Linked DNA regions of Homo sapiens: region 2 is linked to region 1. The links are contacts of gene promoters, found by promoter capture Hi-C in human tissues and cell types (Jung and others, 2019). All regions are on one chromosome and are shown on one strand. The core of a region is centred on a gene start or on the middle of the fragment in contact, and the rest is flanking DNA. Distances in the headings are between cores, read along the strand shown.

Region 1 (4,314 bases), core at 935-3,434:
TACAGGCGTGCACTACTATGCCTGGCTAATTTTTTTGTATTTTTAGTAGAGATGGGGTTTCAACATGTTGGCCAGGCTGGTCCAAAACTCCTGACCTCAGGTGATCTGACCAGCTCAGCCTCCCAAAGTGCTGGGATTACAGATGTGAGCCACCACCCCCGGCCCTGTTTTTTGTTTTGTTTTGTTTTGTTTTTCATTTTTTGAAACATAATCTCACTCTTTAACCCAGGCTAGAGTGCAGTGGCATGATTTTGGCTCACTGCAGCCTCAACCTTCCAGGGCTAAGGCGATCCTGCCACTTCAGCCTCCCAAGTAGCTGGGACTACAGGCGTGCACCACCACACCTGGCTAATTTCTCTATTTTTTGTAGAGACAGGGTTTTGCCATGTTGCCCACGCTGGTCTTGAATTGCTGAGCTCAAGCGATCCTCCTGCCTCAGCCTCCCAAAGTGCTGGGATTATAGGCGTAAGCCACAGCACCCAACCTAAAACAGGACATTTTAAAAAATACATAACAAATGGCAAAATACAACATATCAACACATATGTAATACGATTAAAGAGTACTGAGAGATGCCAGGCGCGGTGGCTCACACTTGTAATCCCAGCACTTAGGGAGGCTGAGGCGGGCGGTTCACGAGCTAACCTGGCTAACACGGTGAAACCCCGTCTCTACCAAAAATACAAAAAACTTAGCCGGGCATGGTGGCGGGCGCCTGTAGTCCCAGCTACTCAGGAGGCTGAGGCAGGAAAATGGCGTGAACCCGGGAGGCGGAGCTTGCAGTGAGCTGAGATGGAGATCGCGCCATTGCACTCCAGTCTAGGCGACAGAGTGAGACTCCGTCTCAAAAAATAAAATAAAAAGAGTACTGAGAGAAATGTATAGGTGCTAAATGATTGCATTAGAAATTGCAAAGGTCTCAATAAGTTCCTAACTCAAGACCCTAGAAAAAAAGAGCAAAATACAGTTAACCCTCAAACAACATGTGTTTGAACTGTGTAGGTCCACTTACACATGGATTTTCTTCCACCTCTTCCCTCCCCCTCACCCCAAGACAGGAAGATCAACCTCCCTTCTTCTTTCTCCTCCTCAGCTTACCTAACCTGATGATGACAAGGATGAACACTCTTAAGATAATCCACTTCCACTTAATGAATAGTAAATGTATTTTCTCTTCCTTATGATTTTAACATTTTTCTTAATTATAAAGATACAGTATGTAATACATAAACATATGTTAATTGTTTTGGTCAGTAGTAGGCTATTAGTACTTAAGTTTGGGGGAACTCAAAAGTTATACATGGATTTTCAGATGTGAAAGGGTTCAGCAACCCTAACCCCCCGCATTGTTCAAAGGTCAATTGTATAACTCACACATGCTGAAGTAAATTCAAAATTGTACAGCCACTTTGGAAACCAGTTTGACAGTTTCTCATAAAAAATGAACACTTAATACCTGACCCGGTGATTGGGAAAAGGCTTAATGAAATTCTAACAGTGAACTGGACGATAGAAGAGGTCAGGACAAGAGTGGCCATGTCGGTGCTGAGGCTGAGATACCTACCGAGGACTGTCACTCTCACGGCTTCCAGCCCTTCGACGAACTCTCAGGTGTGTGGCCTTCTGGCCAGGCTTCTGCCGCGTCACGTTGTTGAAGCATTCGTTGTATCCCTGGGGTTGCAGCTCTCTGTAAGTTTGCTGTGGCTGAACCAGGCAAGGCATAGGCGGATTTCTACAGAAATTATGATTCCACGAAAGATTTTGAGAAGAGGAAGGCTGGTATCTTTCAGAGTGCAGAGTGATTTTGCACTCTAAAGAATCTCTTTGGGTGTAATAGCATGGAAGTTTGTCGCTGACCTGTGTCCCTGAACTATGACACACGAATATGTGGGCTTAGAAATAGTTTTGCTTGATACATTGAGAACAACAAAGAAGACTGAGTGGCGCTACCTTCTTTGGTGCCCAGGATGGTTTGGGAAAGTCTCGCCTTCATCCTCCCCCACAGTTTTGCGATTTTGAAACGGGATCTCGCTCTCCGCGGAAGACAGCCAAGCTCTGCACCCCGGCCTGGCCCGCCGCACCCCGCAGGCCCGGCTCTCCCCTGCGCGCTCCGGGCTGGGCGCGGCGCGTGTGCGGAGCCGCCGCGGTGACACGGAACGCCGGCCGCCCCGGGCCGGGGGAGGCGCGCGTCGAGAGGCGACGGCGGGCTGGCCTGGCGCGCTGCGGCGCTCGCTCACCCGCTCCCGAGGAAGGGCAGTGGGCCCCGCCGCCGCCTCCCAATGGCGAGGCTGCGGGATTGCCTGCCCCGCCTGATGCTCACGCTCCGGTCCCTGCTCTTCTGGTCCCTGGTCTACTGCTACTGCGGGCTCTGCGCCTCCATCCACCTGCTCAAACTTTTGTGGAGCCTCGGCAAGGGGCCGGCGCAGACCTTCCGGCGGCCCGCCCGGGAGCACCCTCCCGCGTGCCTGAGCGACCCCTCCTTGGGCACCCACTGCTACGTGCGGATCAAGGTGAAGGGCCGCGCGGGCCTGGCGGGAGCGGGAGGGAGCGTGACCGCCGCGAGGGTGGGGGGCTCCGGGCTTCTCCTTCCGAGACGCTGGCTCAGCGTCCCCTAGTGTCCTGGCAGGAGGGGAGGAGGGGTTGGGTCCCTGTGTGTCGTGTGTGTGTGTGTGTGTGTGTGTGTGTGAGAGAGAGAGAGAGAGAGAGAGATACAGATAAACAGCACTCGGTCTTTGCAGGCACCTTGATTGGTTTCTGAATGTGGAACTTCTCTAATCAGGGGCCTCTTATATTACTGCCCCCCGGCGCCACAACAACCCAGAATAAACCTGCTCTTTTTCCTACTGCAAGGGGAAGCTGTCTCCTGTCACCCTTTTGCCCTTTAGAGCTCAGATCAGCTGTAGAGAATTGTTCCTCGTGGCATCCTAATGTCTCAGGAGGCTGTTCTTGCCCAATTTTAGAGATAATAAGAGTAAACAGTCAGTCTTTGGGAGTCATGAGTTTATTATGATCACAGACGACTTAGGTTGCATGAAACAATAAGTAAATTGTGTGTGTTGTGGGGAGGAATGCATACTTATGAAGTCAGGGACCAAAGAAAGGAATGGAATAAAAGGTAAATCCAGCCATGCCTGCAGACGCTAATTGTTCAAGCTTCCTCACAGCCCACAAATATTCTGTTTCCTGAGGCTCCAGGTGGTGAAGGGAAATAGTTCCCGTGATACACCCTGCAGTCTGACTCACAGGCCTTTCAAACCCAGCCTCATAAGAGGGGATGTTTATGTCACCAAGTCCTTATTTCCTGTTAGGAGCTAAATTGCCCCGCAGCTGAAGTTCAGAAGGGCAAGAGAACTTCTTTCTTGCCTGGGGTCGACATGAGAATTAAATAGGTTAATATTTATAAAAACAAACACGAAAAACTTAGAACAATGCCTGATGCATAGTCAGTGCAATAAAGTATCTGTTAATTAAATCCATTGCAGTGCCCATAACATTTAATCCTCCAAGACTCACCACCAATAAAAAAAGTTATTGAACCTCTAGGAAGCCATCGTGCAGCTGAGGGTAAAGTCAGATTTGTTATCTCTGTTCAACCTGAGGGGTAAAAGTAGTATAAGAACCATCTGGAATTCCATAAAACACTTTTCCCCTCGCTCTGGCCGCCTAAAGAGCTTCCCCAGAGACAGAGAACCGAGTGGAAAGAGCATTGTCCTGGGAGTTAGGACAAGATGGAGATTCTGGTCACAGCCCTGCTCTCAACCATTTTATGACTCATGTTACCATCTTTGGGCCTCATCTTCTGAATCTGCAAAATGATTCTTTCACATCTGAAAACTCAGTTGCTTGAGTTGCCTGCTATAAAAACCCAATGTCTGTGTTTAGCTTTTGGTTCTTTTTGTTTCCTAGCTTGCTTGCTTTCAGAGATTTTTATTCCTGCTGTTCCCTCTACTTTCCTCAATTCAGCCTGCTTAGTATTTGCTTGAATTCCTGACTCATTCCCATGTTTTTTTAATTTTCCTTGGGTTTTCTTGTCTCCTACATGCAGAGTGAAGTCTTGAGCACTCAGGGCATTCTCTTATTAGAAACGCACACTGACATGACATGAGCAGGCAGCAAGGGGAACAGAACATGCAACACTCAAAATAATAATGTGGGAAGGAGAGACCTAAAAATAAGAGAAGGAGGTGTGAATTATATAACTGATGGCACAGCTCTTGACGGGCAAGCTGAGAAAAGTAGATGACTAGGATGTAAACATGGCAGAAATATAAATTCAGATTAGAATTATTTACATGTCCTGCAGCATTTGAGGGA
Region 2 (4,314 bases), core at 940-3,439, 160 kb after region 1:
GCTTTTTGGTTGTTTTTTGAGATGGTCTTGCGTTGTTGCCCAGGCTTTGAGTGCAGTGGCATGATCATGGCTCACTGCAGCCTCAACCTCCCTGACTCAAGCGATCCTCCCACCTCAGCCTCCCAGGTAGCTGCGACTACAGGCACGCACCACTCCACTCGGCTAATTTTTTATTTTTTATTTTTGTAGAGACAGGGTCTTCCTATGTTGCCCAGGCCAGTCTCTGAACTCCTGGGCTCAAGTGATCCTTCTGCCTTGGCCACCCAAAGTGCTGGGATTATGGGCGTGAGCCACCATGCCAGGCTTGTAGCTTTATATCTTTAGCCCTTTCTCCTCTTGGGATCTACCATTAAGGAACAAGGCCTGTTTACCGCCATACCACCCTGAATGCGTCCAATCTCATGTGATCTTGAAAGAAAGAAGGCCAGACATGGTGGCTCACACCTATAATCCCAGCCTCCCAAGTAGCTGGGACTACAAGGCACCTACTGCTGCACTTAGCTTTATCTTTTAACTCATATTTTAAATGTCTTCTACAAGGCACAGAAAAATAAGTAGTTGTGTTCATTTTTAAGTAAATAGTAGTAAACAGTTTCAAATGCTGTTTGAGATGTTAATTAAGGCACACACTTAGACTAGTCCATTTGATTTGAAAATTAGGATTTTATTTGTGCTTTTTGTTAATTACTGGCTTTTAAAAGATCAGTAGTGGGGCAGAAACTAGACTAGTGGGTTGAAGGGTGAATAGGAAATAAGTAATACTTATTCTTTCAAGGAGCTTGACTGAAAAGGAGACAGTGGTAGTTTGAAGATATTGCTGTTTTTAAGATAAAAATGATTTCAGCACTTTAAAAATAAAAAGTTGGAAATGATCAATGAATCAAGGATCATCAAGAAAGAGGCAAGAGGAAGTAAGATTAAGCACAAAGAGTATCAACTGATAGGTGGCATTTCAAGGAACTTCAGGTGTTGAATATCTAAAGCACCAAATGCGTGTGGACAGCAGTGAAGATAAAGCTGGAAATGCGCCGGCAGACCAACACATGATGAGCCCTGTAGGTGGTGGACAAAGACTATGAGCAAGCCATTTAGGCAAACATCTGAAGAATTTAAAAATCAAAGGCAAACAAATAGGACTGTTTCATTAAGATCACTTGCATTCTAACAGGTTATGATGAATGGAAAGCTGATGGTTCCTGGTTGGAAAAAAGATAATTTTCAATTTGGACATGTCACATTTGAGATGCAGTTGACACACCCAAGATACATAATATATTGTCTTTCAAAATTCAGAAACCTAATAAACCATGATCTTAATAACCGCCACTCCATCTCCTGCTAGTTTTGGCGGGGGGGTAGGGGGTGGGAGGGCAGGGTACTTTATTTGACTCAGTTTTGATCTATTGCAGGGGCTATTTTGGAGTTCTGATTATCTATATATTCTTCTCCAGTTATATACTTTTTATTTTGTAAATTCAAATACCAAGACTATTTTGAATCTGGCTTAGCTAGGTATGAAAAGTGTACATTTCTATCATGTTAATATTGTACGAGTTTTAGTGTTTAGTGTTTGTGATTTACCTCTCATAGAGTGGTTTCTTAATTACTTCCAAACTTAACCAATATTAGCATAAGAATTTTAATTCTAATTTGAGAATTTCAATTCTACTCTGATGCTGTATTTTTATTTTTATTTTTGAGACACGGACTTGCTCTGTTGCCCAGGCAGGAGTGCAGTGGCACAATCACGGCTCACTGCAGCCTTGACCTCCTGGGCTCAAGAAATCCTCCCACCCTAGCCTCCCTGTAGCTACCACATGCACGACCATGCACCACCATGCCTGGCTTTTTTTTTTTTTTAGAGATGGGGTCTCACTTTGTTGCCCAGGCTGGTCTTGAATTGGGCTCAAGTAATCCTCATACCTCAGCCTCCCAGAGTGCTGGGATCACAGGTGTGGCCCAGCCCTGCCCAGCCCCTGATGCTGTATTTTCATAACACCATCCCAATCAATTAAACATTGAATTTCCAAATCAGGGATATACTAGGAAAAACAATCTTTTTATTCAGAGACATGACATTTTTCCAGATAAGGGCTGTCATGAATATAGACTGTACTGAAGTTTACCTCTTTTCTTTCAATTCCATGCTTAATTTTAGCCTGGCAAATGAGCTGAGTTAAAAAAAAATGCAACTGAAATATACCTGCATTTAAACAATTACATGCTTAAGAAAGAAAATGTCTAATACTCCACAAAATTATTCTTTTACTTACATCCATGCAGCTCTCAAAAATATAATCTAGTCAACTGGGGAGATGAAATATATACATACATATATATGTGTGTATATATACATGCACAATCTACTTTGTTAAATAAGCAGGAGACCATTGGTCTGAGGTTGTCTCCATAATCTGAGTTTCTACTTAAGAAACTGCAACTTAACTTAGTACATAACAAACTGAAAACTAATTTAAGAGTATAATAAACAACTGAGTCTCAGCCAATCCTAAACAGCTGAGCTTCTGCTATCACAGGCTACCAACTGATCAGACCATGTCCAAATAAGGCAGACTCACAGCTGTAACCAATCAAGCTATTTCTGCACAATAGTACCTTGGTATTTCCAGGGGATTGATTCCAGAACCCCTACAGATAGCAAAATCTTCAGATGTTCAAGGTCTTTATATAAAATGGTGTATGGCCGGTCGTGGTAGCTCATGGCTGTAATCCTAACACTTTGGGAGGCTGAGGCAAGCAGATCACTTGAGGTCAGGAGTTGAGACCAGTGAAAGGGGAGAGTTGCTTGATTCCCCTTGCAGGAGGCAGGATGTGCAACAGGGGTGTGGCTCCCTTGAGAAAGGGGGAGCATGCAGATGGGCAGGTGCAGAGGTCGGGGCCAGTGCTTCGGGCTCCAGCTCCACGGTAGTGTCTAGGAGTGGGTGCCTGCAACCCTAGTGTTATGAAGCTCTTTCAGCTTTGCCGTCTGCAGATGGCTTGAGTGTTAATCAGCTCAGTGGATCCTCTGCCTTATCACAAGGGCAGAGGGCCAGTGTGACAGCTTTCTGTATCCTGAGATCATGCCCAGTGTCCTGGAAGAATCGGATCACACGCGGCCTTGAAGGATGGATGCGAGGTTTTGTTGAGTGGTAGAGGCGGCTCTCAGCAAGATGGATGGGGAGCCAGAAAGGGAGATGGAGTGAGAAGGTGATCTTCTCCTGGAGCCAGGCTGCCCAGCCACCAGACTCTTCTCCAACCACCCCCATCTGAATTCCTTTTGATGTCCAGACGTTTCTCTTCTTTTCCCTTTCTCCTCCACGTTTTGTTCCACTACCCGTCTGCTTGCCTCCTTGTCTCCTCACTTGCTAATCTGCTCTGGAGTTTGAGGTTCAGGGGGTTATATGGGGACAGGATAGGGGTGTGGTGGGCCAAAAGGTGAAACAGGGTGTGAAAACAGAAATGCCTCTTCTTATTTAGGGCTGTGGGGGTATCTGTGCTTAAGGGTGGGGTTTTTGCCGGGGAACCATCCTCTTCTACCCAGCATTTCCCTGTCTCCTGTTCATATCAACAGCCTGGCCAACATGGCAAAACCCCATCTCTACTAAAAATACAAAAAAATTTAGCTGGGTGTGGTGGCAGGCACCTGTAGTCCCAGCTACTCAAGAGGCTGAGGCACGAGAATCACTTGGACCTGGGAGGCAGAGGTTGCAGTGAGCCGAGATCCTGCCACTGCACTGCACTCCAGCCTGGGCAACAGAGTGAGACTCTGTCTCAAAAAAAAAAAAAAAAAAAAAAGGCTGGGCATGGTGGCTCACGCCTGTAATCCCAGTACTTTGGGAGGCTGAGGCAGGTGGATCACCTGAGGTCAGGAGTTTGAAACCAGCCTTGCCAACACGATGAAACCCCGTCTCTATGAAAAATACAAAAAAGTAGCCGGGCACAGTGGCGTGTGCCTGTAATCCTATCTACTTGGGAGGCTGAGGCAGGAGAATCACTTGAGCACAGAAGGCAGAGGTTACAGTGAGCCGAGATCACACCACTGCACTCTAGCTTGGGCAGCAGAGTGAGCCTCTGTAGCAACCCCCCACCAAAAAAAGAATAAATTTAACCAAAGAGGTAAAAGATATGTACACTGGAAACTATAAAACATTGGTGAAATAAATTGAAGACAAGTAAATAGAAAGATATTCTGTGTTTATGGATTTGAAGAATACTATTAAAATGTCCATACTATCCAAAGCAATCAACAGATTCAATGTAATCCCTATGAAAATTCCAATGTTATTTTTCACAGACATAGAAAAAAATTCTAAA

What was found. The method cuts DNA at HindIII sites, captures the fragments that hold promoters and counts their contacts. A contact is called where the count stands out against the background at its distance.
Region 2: a contact is called between a fragment that was not itself captured here and the fragment with the promoter of EPHX4 in region 1, in 1 of the 25 tissues and cell types used here (dorsolateral prefrontal cortex).

Annotation. Positions count from the first base shown.
Region 1 is chr1:92,027,801-92,032,114 of GRCh38, forward strand. It overlaps EPHX4 (epoxide hydrolase 4), which reads left to right and starts at 2,185. Exons shown (of 7, transcript NM_173567.5): 1 at 2,185-2,510. The coding sequence starts at 2,280. LOC124904218 (a long non-coding RNA gene) reads right to left here and starts at 2,587. Exons shown (of 2, transcript XR_007066222.1): 1 at 1,565-2,587. RefSeq lists an enhancer at 1,884-2,385. The HindIII fragment of the contact is 17,230 bases long and covers 1-3,974 here.
Region 2 is chr1:92,189,388-92,193,701 of GRCh38, forward strand. No RefSeq gene overlaps it. Among named protein-coding and RNA genes, the nearest start is that of C1orf146, 26 kb to the right of the region's middle. The HindIII fragment of the contact is 9,202 bases long and covers 1-4,314 here.